Regions from separate parts of the Homo sapiens genome. Here all the other regions are linked to region 1. Evidence: promoter capture Hi-C in 16 types of primary human blood cells and fetal thymus (Javierre and others, 2016). All regions are on one chromosome and are shown on one strand. The core of a region is centred on a gene start or on the middle of the fragment in contact, and the rest is flanking DNA. Distances in the headings are between cores, read along the strand shown.

What was found. Contacts are between HindIII fragments. The CHiCAGO score rates a contact against its expected background, and 5 or more counts as called.
Region 2: a contact is called between a fragment that was not itself captured here and the fragment with the promoter of MTMR11 in region 1, in 2 of 17 cell types (erythroblasts and monocytes). The highest score is 8.7, in erythroblasts.
Region 3: a contact is called between a fragment that was not itself captured here and the fragment with the promoter of MTMR11 in region 1, in 10 of 17 cell types (total B cells, fetal thymus, naive B cells and 7 more). The highest score is 7.5, in total B cells.

What each region holds. Positions count from the first base shown.
Region 1 is chr1:149,935,166-149,938,917 of GRCh38, reverse strand. It overlaps MTMR11 (myotubularin related protein 11), which reads left to right and starts at 2,039. Exons shown (of 17, transcript NM_001145862.2): 1 at 2,039-2,336; 2 at 2,689-2,764; 3 at 3,213-3,334; 4 at 3,559-3,619. The coding sequence starts at 2,271. OTUD7B (OTU deubiquitinase 7B) reads left to right here. Exons shown (of 12, transcript NM_020205.4): 12 at 1-1,106. RefSeq lists an enhancer at 2,249-2,773. The HindIII fragment of the contact is 11,640 bases long and covers 1-3,080 here.
Region 2 is chr1:150,094,862-150,098,236 of GRCh38, reverse strand. The region is part of intron 13 of VPS45 (vacuolar protein sorting 45 homolog); the gene reads right to left. Among named protein-coding and RNA genes, the nearest start is that of VPS45, 29 kb to the right of the region's middle. The HindIII fragment of the contact is 190 bases long and covers 1,199-1,388 here.
Region 3 is chr1:150,124,912-150,128,336 of GRCh38, reverse strand. The region is part of intron 14 of VPS45 (vacuolar protein sorting 45 homolog); the gene reads right to left. Among named protein-coding and RNA genes, the nearest start is that of PLEKHO1, 23 kb to the left of the region's middle. The HindIII fragment of the contact is 1,872 bases long and covers 479-2,350 here.

The sequences.
Region 1 (3,752 bases), core at 790-3,289:
TCTTGTCGCCCAGGATGGAGTGCAATGGCGCGATCCCGGCTCACTGCAACCTTCGTCTCCTGGGTTCAAGCGATTCTCCTGCCTCAGGCTCCCGAGTAGCTGGGATTACAGGAGCCTACCACCATGCCTGGCTTAATTTTTTTTTTTTTTTTTTTTTTTAGTTAGAGTCGGGGGTTTCGCCATGTTGGCCAGGCTGGTCTTGAATTCCTAACCTCAGGTGATCCGTGATCCACCCACCTCAGCCTTCCAAAGTGCTGGGATTACAGGCATGAGCCACCACACCCCTACCCCCCGATTTTTTTTCTCCGTGTTCCTCCACTGTCTCCACACCTCAAAGTGCTAAAGAATAGAATGAGGCTCTTGAATGAAGGATGGTGGTGAGAAGGAAAGTGGATAATGGGATTTAAAAGTTATGGTACACACCTCTTCCTATGTCTTTTTTTTTTTTTTTTTTTTTGCGATGGAGTCTTGCTCTGTTGCCCAGGCTGGAGCGTAGTCATTAGATCTTGGCTCACTGCAACCTCTGCTTCCTGGGTTCAAGCGATTCTCCTGCCTCAGCCTCCCAAGTAGCTGGGATTATAGGTGTGAGCCACCACGCCTGGCTAATTTTTGTATTTTCAGTAGAGATGGGGCTTCATCATGTTGGCCAGGTGGTCCTGAACTCCTGACCTCAAGTAATCTGCCTGCCTTGGCCTTCCAAAATGCTTGGGATTACAGGCGTGAGCCACTGCGCCTGGTCCCTATTTTCTTTTTACAACAGACCTTGGGAAATATTTTCTTCCCCCAAGAGGTTGAGGCCCATGGAATGCATTAGGGGCAGGTGGGGTGGTGGTGCTCTGTAGCCTTTAGGACTTCTAGAATCAGGCTTCTGGGCCACCTTCTTAGCAGGTGTATACCTCTTTGTTCCAGACTGACTTTCTGTCTCACAATATCTTCACTATTTCCACAGTTGCAGCCAAGACAGGAAACTGAAAGCTGAGGCCAGAAGGGTGGTGTACTGGGGGGAGGGGAAAATTGAGTGTCACTTTGGAAAACTGGGGCCCCCATCTAAGGATTGCTGCCTCTGTAGATTCAAAAGCAATAAAACAGCAGCTCATTAACTCTTATTTTGTATTTTATTTTCTGTCTTTTTCATGTCTAAATAAAGATTTTTGCTTTGCTGTCCCCAAGTCCCCCTCCTTTAAAGGAGCTGCAGCTCCTTCTCTCCTTGTTCCCAGCTTTCCTTACCCATCTTTGCTTCTAGGGTTGCAGATGGGAGGGACGGGGGATGGACTGCTGAGCTGAAGAGAGGTTTCCAGCCCTCACCTGTGAAAGTCCTGAACATGAATCATTCATTTGGAGATCTGGTGTCTGGGTTGGAGGGGTGGAGTCACATACGGGAATGGGCACTTATTGCCTATTGGTTGTGTATCTACGTGATGGGCAAGATTAACTGGTAAGATCTTTTTGTCCCACCCACATCCCCAAGACTTGCACACAAACTGTACTTGTGTCTGCATCTTGGACACATTTCCATCTCTTTTTATACTTCTCCACTGCAGTCTTCACATGATGTCTGTGTCATGCCCTCTAGAGAAAGATATGCAAAACCACTTTAACCAGTTTCCCTGCTTCCTCACCTAATTCTTGGGCCTCTGCTGACAAAAATCCCCCCAGGTCTAATTTTCATTTTCTTCTGGAAGAGGCGGCAAGGAGGCTTGAACCACTTTCACATTCCTACCCCTCTCCCCGCCCCAAACCCCTTTGAGAAGACAAAAGAACGGAGCTTTTAAGGGAAGTCATCACTGAGACACTCCAGACAGGTAGCCCAGATGATTCCAGCTTCATAATCAATAGAACTGCTCCCCTCAAACGGTCTCCAGTACTCATGAACAGGAAGAGAACAGGGTCTGGGATTGGGGTAAAGAAGGGAGTCGTTTTTCTCTCAGTCCCCATTTCTTCCCCACCCGTCCGTCTCAGACTCCACCGTTTCCTCTCCACTTTTCCAGAATTGTGTGTATTCTCCTTTAAGGGGTTGGGCATCTCTCCCGCCCTCTCCAGAGTCGACTGAAGTTTCCGAGGAGACTTCTCAGGCTGGGCTGGACACACCTTTCCAAGGACCCCCAAACTCTGCTCCGTGCACGTCAAATGCTCCTTTCCCTTGTGTCCAACCCCCTACCCCTCTCCCTAACACCCCTCTTCTCAACAAGACTCAGCCTCTCCCCGAGGTGGGTGAGCATCCTTGAGGTTTCCCACCCTTAACTGCTGTGTCCCCGGATGGAGCCAGAGAAATGTGGTGGGGGGGCCGGGGCCAGAGTTTCAACATTGCCCCCCAGAAGGAGGAGCCAGAGATGGGGGTAAGGAGAAGGAATTTGGGGGGTGTCGGCAAGAGGGTGAGAACGGGGATGAGGTGGAGATAAAAGGGGGAAGCAAAGGCTCTAGAGGAGGAGGAGGAGGGTGTGTCTGTCTATCAGCTTCTGCTGATGGAGCCTGGTCCGTCTTTCTCAGTCTCAAGTTCGTTGTCTCATTATCCATTAACCAGCCCCTCCCTTTACTGTTTACCAGCCCTGTTAGGTCTGGAGCTCCCCACAGACACTGATCTCAGTTTCCCCCGAGAGTGTGAGTGTAGGCCTCTACAGGCAGCTGCCTCTGGGGAGTTGGGGAGCCTAGGGGTTAACTCTAGACCCCCCTCAACCCTCTGGACCAAAGTCTGTCCAGGAAAATAGGATGCCGGAGCCCAGGAGTCGTCAGCCTAGCAGTTGCCTGGCCTCCAGATGCCTCCCAGGTAATAATGCCCTATCACTCTCCAAAGACTTCCAAATTTCATCCTACGCCAATCTTGTTTCATGCCCTCACCAAAGATACCCCTGTGTTCCTCTCGTGGCTCGAAGTACGTCTGCCTGAGGCTCGCTGTCCTCCCTGACAGCCTCTAGAGCTGGCTGAGAGCTGGACCTTGACATTCCTTCTGTTTCCTTGACCCTGTTACCCCTTTTCAAATTTACTTATTCGATACATAGTTAGTGCCTGCTATGTGCCAGGCCTTGTTCTAGGCTCTGTTCTAGTTACAGAAATTAAAAAACATTTATCTTTCCTCATAAGCTTACATTGTAGTGGGCTTTGGGGAGGATTTTAATCTTCCCTATTTAGATCTCCCTTTCTTGGAGGGGTGGGTGTATCCAAGTGTGGGCAACACTGGGAACAGTCATAACAGGGCTTCCCTTCTTCCCCTTTAGGGGAGCAGATCCTAGCATGGGCCCCAGGGGTGAGGAAGGGCCTGGAACCAGAATTGTCTGGAACCCTGATCTGTACCAACTTTAGGGTCACCTTCCAGCCCTGTGGATGGCAGTGGAATCAGGTGAGATGGTTGGGGCCACAGAAATGACAGCTAGTGGGAAATGGGTAGGGGAGTCTAGCAGGATTTAGACAAACATTATGGGTTAAGGGCTGTCTTTTGAATGTATCATTGATAATCAGTGGGAACTCTCTCTAGGGTTGTTGCCCCCTAGAAGGGGTTGGGGCTGCCAGGGTAGGAAAATGAGGGCGATTTCAGATGTCTACCCAGTCACGTGTTTCGTCTAGGACACTCCCTTGAACAGTGAATACGATTTTGCCCTGGTCAACATTGGACGATTAGAGGCTGGTAAGTTGGGGGGGGGTTTGGTGAAGGGGTTCACTGGGGTTGTTGGAACTCCCTCCTCATCCTTCCTCTGTTCTCAGAAAACAGCAGGGATGGAGTGGGATGGGCTGCAAGAGTCCCTTCTGGAGAGACTCTG
Region 2 (3,375 bases), core at 44-2,543, 160 kb before region 1:
ATAGATATGTAACTAACTACTGTCTCAATATCCAGAGGTAACGACTATTAACAACTTCTTGATTATTCTTTCAGAAATAATTACTGTAGGCAGGGCATGGTGGCTCATGCCAGTAATCCAAGCACTTTGGGAGGCTGAGGCAGGCAGATTGCTTGAGCTCAGGAGTTTGAGACAAGCCTAGGCAACATAGCAAAACCTTGTCTCTATAAAAATGCAAAAATTAGCTAGGTACTGTGGCATGTGCCTGTAGCCCCAGCTACTTAGGAGAATGAGGTGGGATGGCTTAAGCCCAAAAGGTGGAGGCTGCAGTGAGCTGAAATCACGCCACCACTCTCCAGTCTGGGCTACAGAGCCAGACCCTGTCTCAAAAAAACAAACAAACAAACAAAAAGAGTTACTGTATTTATACATATATGTGCTTGTGAAAATATATTATATATATAATATACATACATATGTATAGTCAAGCACATATTTATATACATGTACACTTTTTTTGTTTTGTTTTGTTTTGTTTTGAGACGGAGCCTTGCTCTATCACCCAGGCTGGTGTGTAATGGCATAATCTCGGCTCACTGCAACCTCCACCTCCCTGGTTCAAGCGATTCTCCTGACTCAGCCTCCTGAGTAGCTGGGACTACAGGTGCATGCCACCACGCCTGGCTAATTTTTGCATTTTTAGTAGAGACAGGGTTTCACCATGTTGGCCAGGCTGGTCTCAAACTCCTGACCTCAAAGAATCTGCCCGCTCGGCCTCCCAAAGTGCTGGGATTATAGGCATAAACCACTGCACCCAGGATTATACAGTTTTTTTACCTGAAAGAAATGTTATGGCTGGGCACAGTGGCTCATGCCTGCAATCCCAGCACTTTGGGAGGCCGAGGCGGGCGGATCACGAGGTGAGGCGGGCGGATCACGAGGTCAGGAGTTCGAGACCAGCCTGACCAACATGGTGAGACCCCATCTCTACTAAAAATACAAAAATTAGCCAGGCATGGTGGCATGCACCTGTAATCCCAGCTACTCAGGAGGCTGAGGCAGGAGAATCTTGAACCCAGGAGGCGGGGATTGCAGTGAGCCGAGATGGCACCACTGCACTCCAGCCTGGGTGACAGAGCAAGACTCTGTCTCAAAAAAAAAAAAAAAGAAAGAAATGTTACAACATCCTGCTTTTCTATCTAATATATCTTAAAAAGCTTTGCATATCACCCGTGAGGAGTTATGTCATTTAAAAAAAAAAGAATACGTAATATTGTACTGTAGTTTAGGTAACCAGCCCTCTATTAATAGATATTTAGCTTGTTCCTAGTTTTTTTGCTATTACTTCAGTGAACATCCTGGCTTAAGTATCTTTGTGTACTTGCACAGGAATATCTATACAGTAAGCTTTTAGAAGTAGAATTGGTAAATAAGAGTATTTTCAAGTCCTTTGCAGTATTCCTTCTGTTAGGCATGGCCAGGAGGTGGTATAGGTATGTTCTGTGACACCCACTGTAGTTTTGTAACCATTTCTTTGCCTTCTTCCTTCAAAATTTCCACTATCTTAGAAGCTCATAATGTAGCTGCACCGTTTTCTCCTGACCTCCTTTCCTGGTCACTTTTATTCCATGAAGACTTTAGCTCTGGCTTATTTGTCCTCCTTTTTCTCCTTCTCTTTTCAAGATTGTCAGTGACTTTAACATCACTGTGGATTACTCATCTAACATCCTGGTCTCCTTACCAATCCTGATCTTTTCTTTTACCCACTACAACCACCCACATCCATGCTTACAATCTAAACTTCTTCGTTACAAGTATCTGAACCCCCTATGAAATCTTGAATTCAAAATATCTTTATCCAATAACTACCTCTCAACTTCCAATTTACCTGTACTAATACTCTTCTGTAATAATTCTTTGGCCTCATCAAATCTCCAATTCATTCACCAATACCTTTGTCATGATCCAATACACTCTCCTCTTGTTTCCATTTCCCCAACTAGTTGCCTTTTCCATGTTTAATCTGGAGCAGTTCAACATTTCCAGAGGTTTTAATATTACTAATGTTTTTGTCAACTCTCAATATGTGACATTTCTACTTGTTATCTAATAGACATCTCCAACTGAACAACAAAACTCTGTTTCTCCTCAAAGCCTGAGAGTTATTCTTGACTTCTCTCTTACCCTTGTTCCATAAATCTGTGCCATTAAATATGACTATTGATTCTGGCTTCTCTCTCAGCCTCCTACCCAAACCACTTCCATTTCTCACCTGGACTACTGCATTCATCTCCTCAGTAGTCTCTCTGCTTCTATTTTTGCCTTCAATAATCCATTCTTACCACAAATATCTTTTAAAACACAATTAAGTTCATGTTACTCATATGCTTAACTCTTCAATGGCTTCCTATGACATTAAAAAAAAATCTCTTTACTAGGGTCTTCGAGAACCGATGTGATCCAACCCTACCTATCTTTCAACCTCTTATTTCCTCCTTATTCACTATGCTCCAGCCAAGCAGGGCTCCCTTCTGTTCCATTAACTTGCCAAATTCTCTCTTTCTTCAAGACCTTTGCTCTGGTGTTTCCCTCTGCTTTGGATGCTTTCTCTCCTAATCATAGTGTGATTGCTTTTTTTTTTTTGAGATGGGGTCTCACTCTGTTGCCCAGGCTCGAGTGCAACGGTGCAAATTTCAGCTCACTGCAACCTCCGCCTCCCAGGTTCAAGCGATTCTTCTACCTCAGCCTCCTGAGTAGCTGGGATTACAGGCGCCTGCTACCCACGCCAGGCTAATTTTTGTAGTTTTAGTAGAGACAGGGTTTTGCCATGTTGGCCAGCCTGGTTCAAACTACTGACCTCAGGTGATCCTCCCGCTTTGGCCGCCCAAAGTGTTGGGATTACAGGCGTGAGCCACCGTGTCTGGTCTGGTTCTTTCTTATGACTCAAAGCTCATCTTAAATATCACCTCTCAGAGAGGTTCTCTCTCCATCTAAAGTAGTCCTCCCCACCCCTACAATTACTTTGAAGCTCATCACCCTATTTATTTCCTGGATAGCACTTATTAAAATTATATTCTTCATTTGTTTACTTGTTTACTCATTGTCTCTATGTAAGTTCTTTGAGGGCGGGTACCTTGTCTTTCCTGTCACTTCTATATCGCCAGCATCTACAACAGCTCTTAACATACTGAAAGCATTCAATCAACATCTGTTGTGTAAAAGGACAAAGCAACTGAATTATTAACTATATGCATACTTAGGTTATAGTGACAAATGGTAACAGATGTTGACAACTGATAAATGTGCATTTTGTTCAAGGAATATAATTTTGAGCTTTGTGTGGGAATGAATTATGTAAATTAGAAAGGTTTCCTGCTGTGTACTGATCATATACAG
Region 3 (3,425 bases), core at 165-2,664, 190 kb before region 1:
ACTAATTAATCAAGTTAATTTTCTTTTTTTTTTTAAGACAAGGGTCCCATTCTGTTACCCAGGCTGGAGTGCAGTGGCGCGAACTTGACTCACTGCAACCTCTGCCCCCTGGGCTCAAGCTATCCTCCCATCTTAGCCTCCCGAGTAGCTGGGACCACAGGCACGCACCATCACGCCCAGCTATTTTTTTGTATTTTTGGTAGAGACAGGGTCTCACCATGTTGCCCAGGCTGGTCTTGAACTCCTGAACTCAAGCAATCTGCCCGCCCCGGCCTCCCAAAGTGTGGGATTACAGGTGTGAGTCACCATGCCTGGCCAAGTTAGTCATTTTTACTCAAAGAGCAACACTGTCTCTTAAATCTCATTTTTAATCATCATTGAATGATAAAATTCTTAAAATAAAAGTAAATGATCCCTCAGTTCTGTATTATTTTTTCCCCAGCTTTGGTTTACAATATTTCTTAGTAGTCTGAAAGCTTCACATATTATCCATTTGATAAAAACATATTTTGCCTATCTTATAGGTGACATTTATAAACAAAGGATTTAAAAATATCATAGCTAGATAAATATTCCAAAATATTATTTCAACTGAGTGCTTAGGTACTCATACTGGAAACAGACTGTGCCCAATTCCAGGTTTACCACTTACTAGCTTTATGACTTTGGACAAGGTACTTAACTTCTCTCTACTTTGATTTCCTCATCTGAAAAAGGAAGTTGATAACAATTATAAAAATATCTACCTTGGCTGGGTGTGGTGGCTCATGCCAGTAATCCCAGCAATTTGGGAGGCCAAGTTGGGAGGTTTGTTTGAGCCCAGGAGTTTGAGACCAGTCTGGACAACATAGCAAGACCCTGTCTCTAGAAAAAAATAAAAAGTTAGCACAAGCTACTTGTGAGGCTGAAGTGGTAGGACTGCTTGAACCCAGATCAATGTCACAGTGAGCTGTGTGTGTGCCACTGCACTCCAGCCTGGGCAACAGAGCGAGACCCTGTTTCAAAAAAAAAAAAATCTGCTTCACTGAGTCATTATGAGAATTAACAAAATTAAATGGATAAAGCAGTGCAAGTCACAAATGTTCTCGTGGCCACATTAAAAAAGTAAAATGAAACAGGTAAAATTAATTTTAGTAGTGTATTTTATTTAACCCATATATCCAAAATATTATCTTTCAGCATGTAATCAACTTAAAAAAGTACTGAGATATTTTACATTTTGTTGTACTGTCTTTAAAATTTGGTTAAGTGTTTTACCAAATTATCATCATACCCGTTGCTTTAGGAATTGTAATAGCCCAGTTTTCCTCAAAGTGTGTGAGTCATAACATCAGTTGACATCAGGTGGTTCTGGGGCATGGCATTAAATAACATTGAATTATGCAGTGAGAAACTATTCCATTTTAAATTATCTTTTTTATCTTTCTGAACATTTGAAGGAGAAAATGTCAGTTTGGTACTACAGTGCTTTGTCTTACCTGTAGCTATGATTACAGGTGCGTACCATGATGCCTGGCTAATTTTAACGTTTTTTGTGGAGATGGAGTCTCACTATGTTGCCCAGGCTGTTCTTGAACCCCTGGCCTCAAATGATCCTCCCAATTGAGCCTCCCAAAGTGCTGGGATTACAGGCATGGGCCACCTCTGCTCAGCTACATATAAATTTTTTTTATTGAGCTATAACTCATAGACAATAAAATTCACTGATATCAAGGATATTCTTTGATGAGTTTGCCAAATATATCCAGTTGTATAACCAACTCCTCAATCAAGATATAGAACATTTCCATCACTTGAGCAAGAGCTTCTTAAAAATCAAAAAACAGGCCGGTGTGGTGGCTCACGCCTGTAATCCCAGCACTTTGGGAGGCCGAGGAGGGCGGATCACGAGGTCAGGAGATTGAGACCATCCTGGCTAACATGGTGAAACCCCATTTCTACTAAAAATACAAAAAAAAATTAGCCAGGCATGGTGGCAGATGCCTGTAGTCCCAGCTACTTGGGAGGCTGAGGCAGGACAATGGCGTGAACCTGGGAGGCGGAGCTTGCAGTGAGCCGAGATGGCACCACTGCACTCCAGCATGGGCGACAGAGTGAGGCTCTGTCTCAAAAAAACAAAACAAAACAAAAACCCAACAACAAAAGCCATGAAATTAATCCCATACCTTAGAATATATAATGCTAAATTGCTTTCTAGGAAAGTTATACTAATTTATCCTTCTACTGGCAATATTTCAGACTGCCTCACTATACGTTTATCTTAAACCTTTGTCCCCACCGAGATGGGGACCAAGTTTTATCAGTACGTAAGATGTTTATTGAAGCATTATTTATATTAAAAATGTAAGCTTGGCCAGGGGCAGTGGCTCATATCTATAATCCCACCACTTTGGGAGTCTGAGACGGGTGGATCACAAGGTCAGGAGTTCAAGACCAGTCTGGCCAAGATGGTGAAAGCCCGTCTCTACTAAAAATACAAAAATTAGCTGGGAGTGGTGGCAGGCGCCTATAATCCCAGCTACTCGGGAGGCTGAGGCAGAGAATTCCTTGAACCTGGGTGGTGGAGGTTACAGTGAGCTGAGATCACATCACTGCACTCTAGCCTGGGCAACAGAGGAGACTCCATCTCAAAAATGATTAAAAAATATAAAAAAAATAAAAAATATATCTCCTAATGCTATCCCTCCCCCCTCCCCCCAGTGTGTGATGTTCCCCTTCCTGTGTCCAAGTGTTCTCATTGTTCAATTCCCACCTATGAGTGAGAACATGTGGTGTTTGGTTTTTTGTCCTTGCGATAGTTTGCTCAGAATGATGGTTTCCAGTTTCATCCATGTCCCTACAAAGGACATGAACTCGTCATTTTTTAAATGATGAGTTAATGGGTGCAGCACACCAACATGGCACATGTATACATATGTAACAAACCTGCACATTGTGCACATGTACCCTAGAACTTAAAGTATAATAAAAATATATATATATTAAAAAATAAATAAAAAAAGTAAAAAAAATAAAAAATACATATCCAATACAGAAAAAAGAAGATTTTGAATGTTCCCAATACAAAGAAATGATAAATGTTTGATGTGCTGTTATGCTAAATATCCTGATTTGATCAGTATACATTGTATACATGTATCAAAATATTACTCTGTACCTAATAAATGTGTAAAATTATTACATGTCAATTAAAAATTTAAAAAAGCAAAAAAATAAATAAATAAAAAATAAAAGTAAACTTGCAGCTGAATATGCTGGTGAAAAAAATGTAAACAACCTAAATGTCCAATGGTAATAGTTAAATAAAGACCCATCCTTAAAAATAAAATTATATAGCCATTAAGATTGTTTTAAAGACTTTTTAGTAACATGGGAAAATGTTCTCAAATGATTAAAGAAAAAAACTCTATAGATCTTATGTTAAA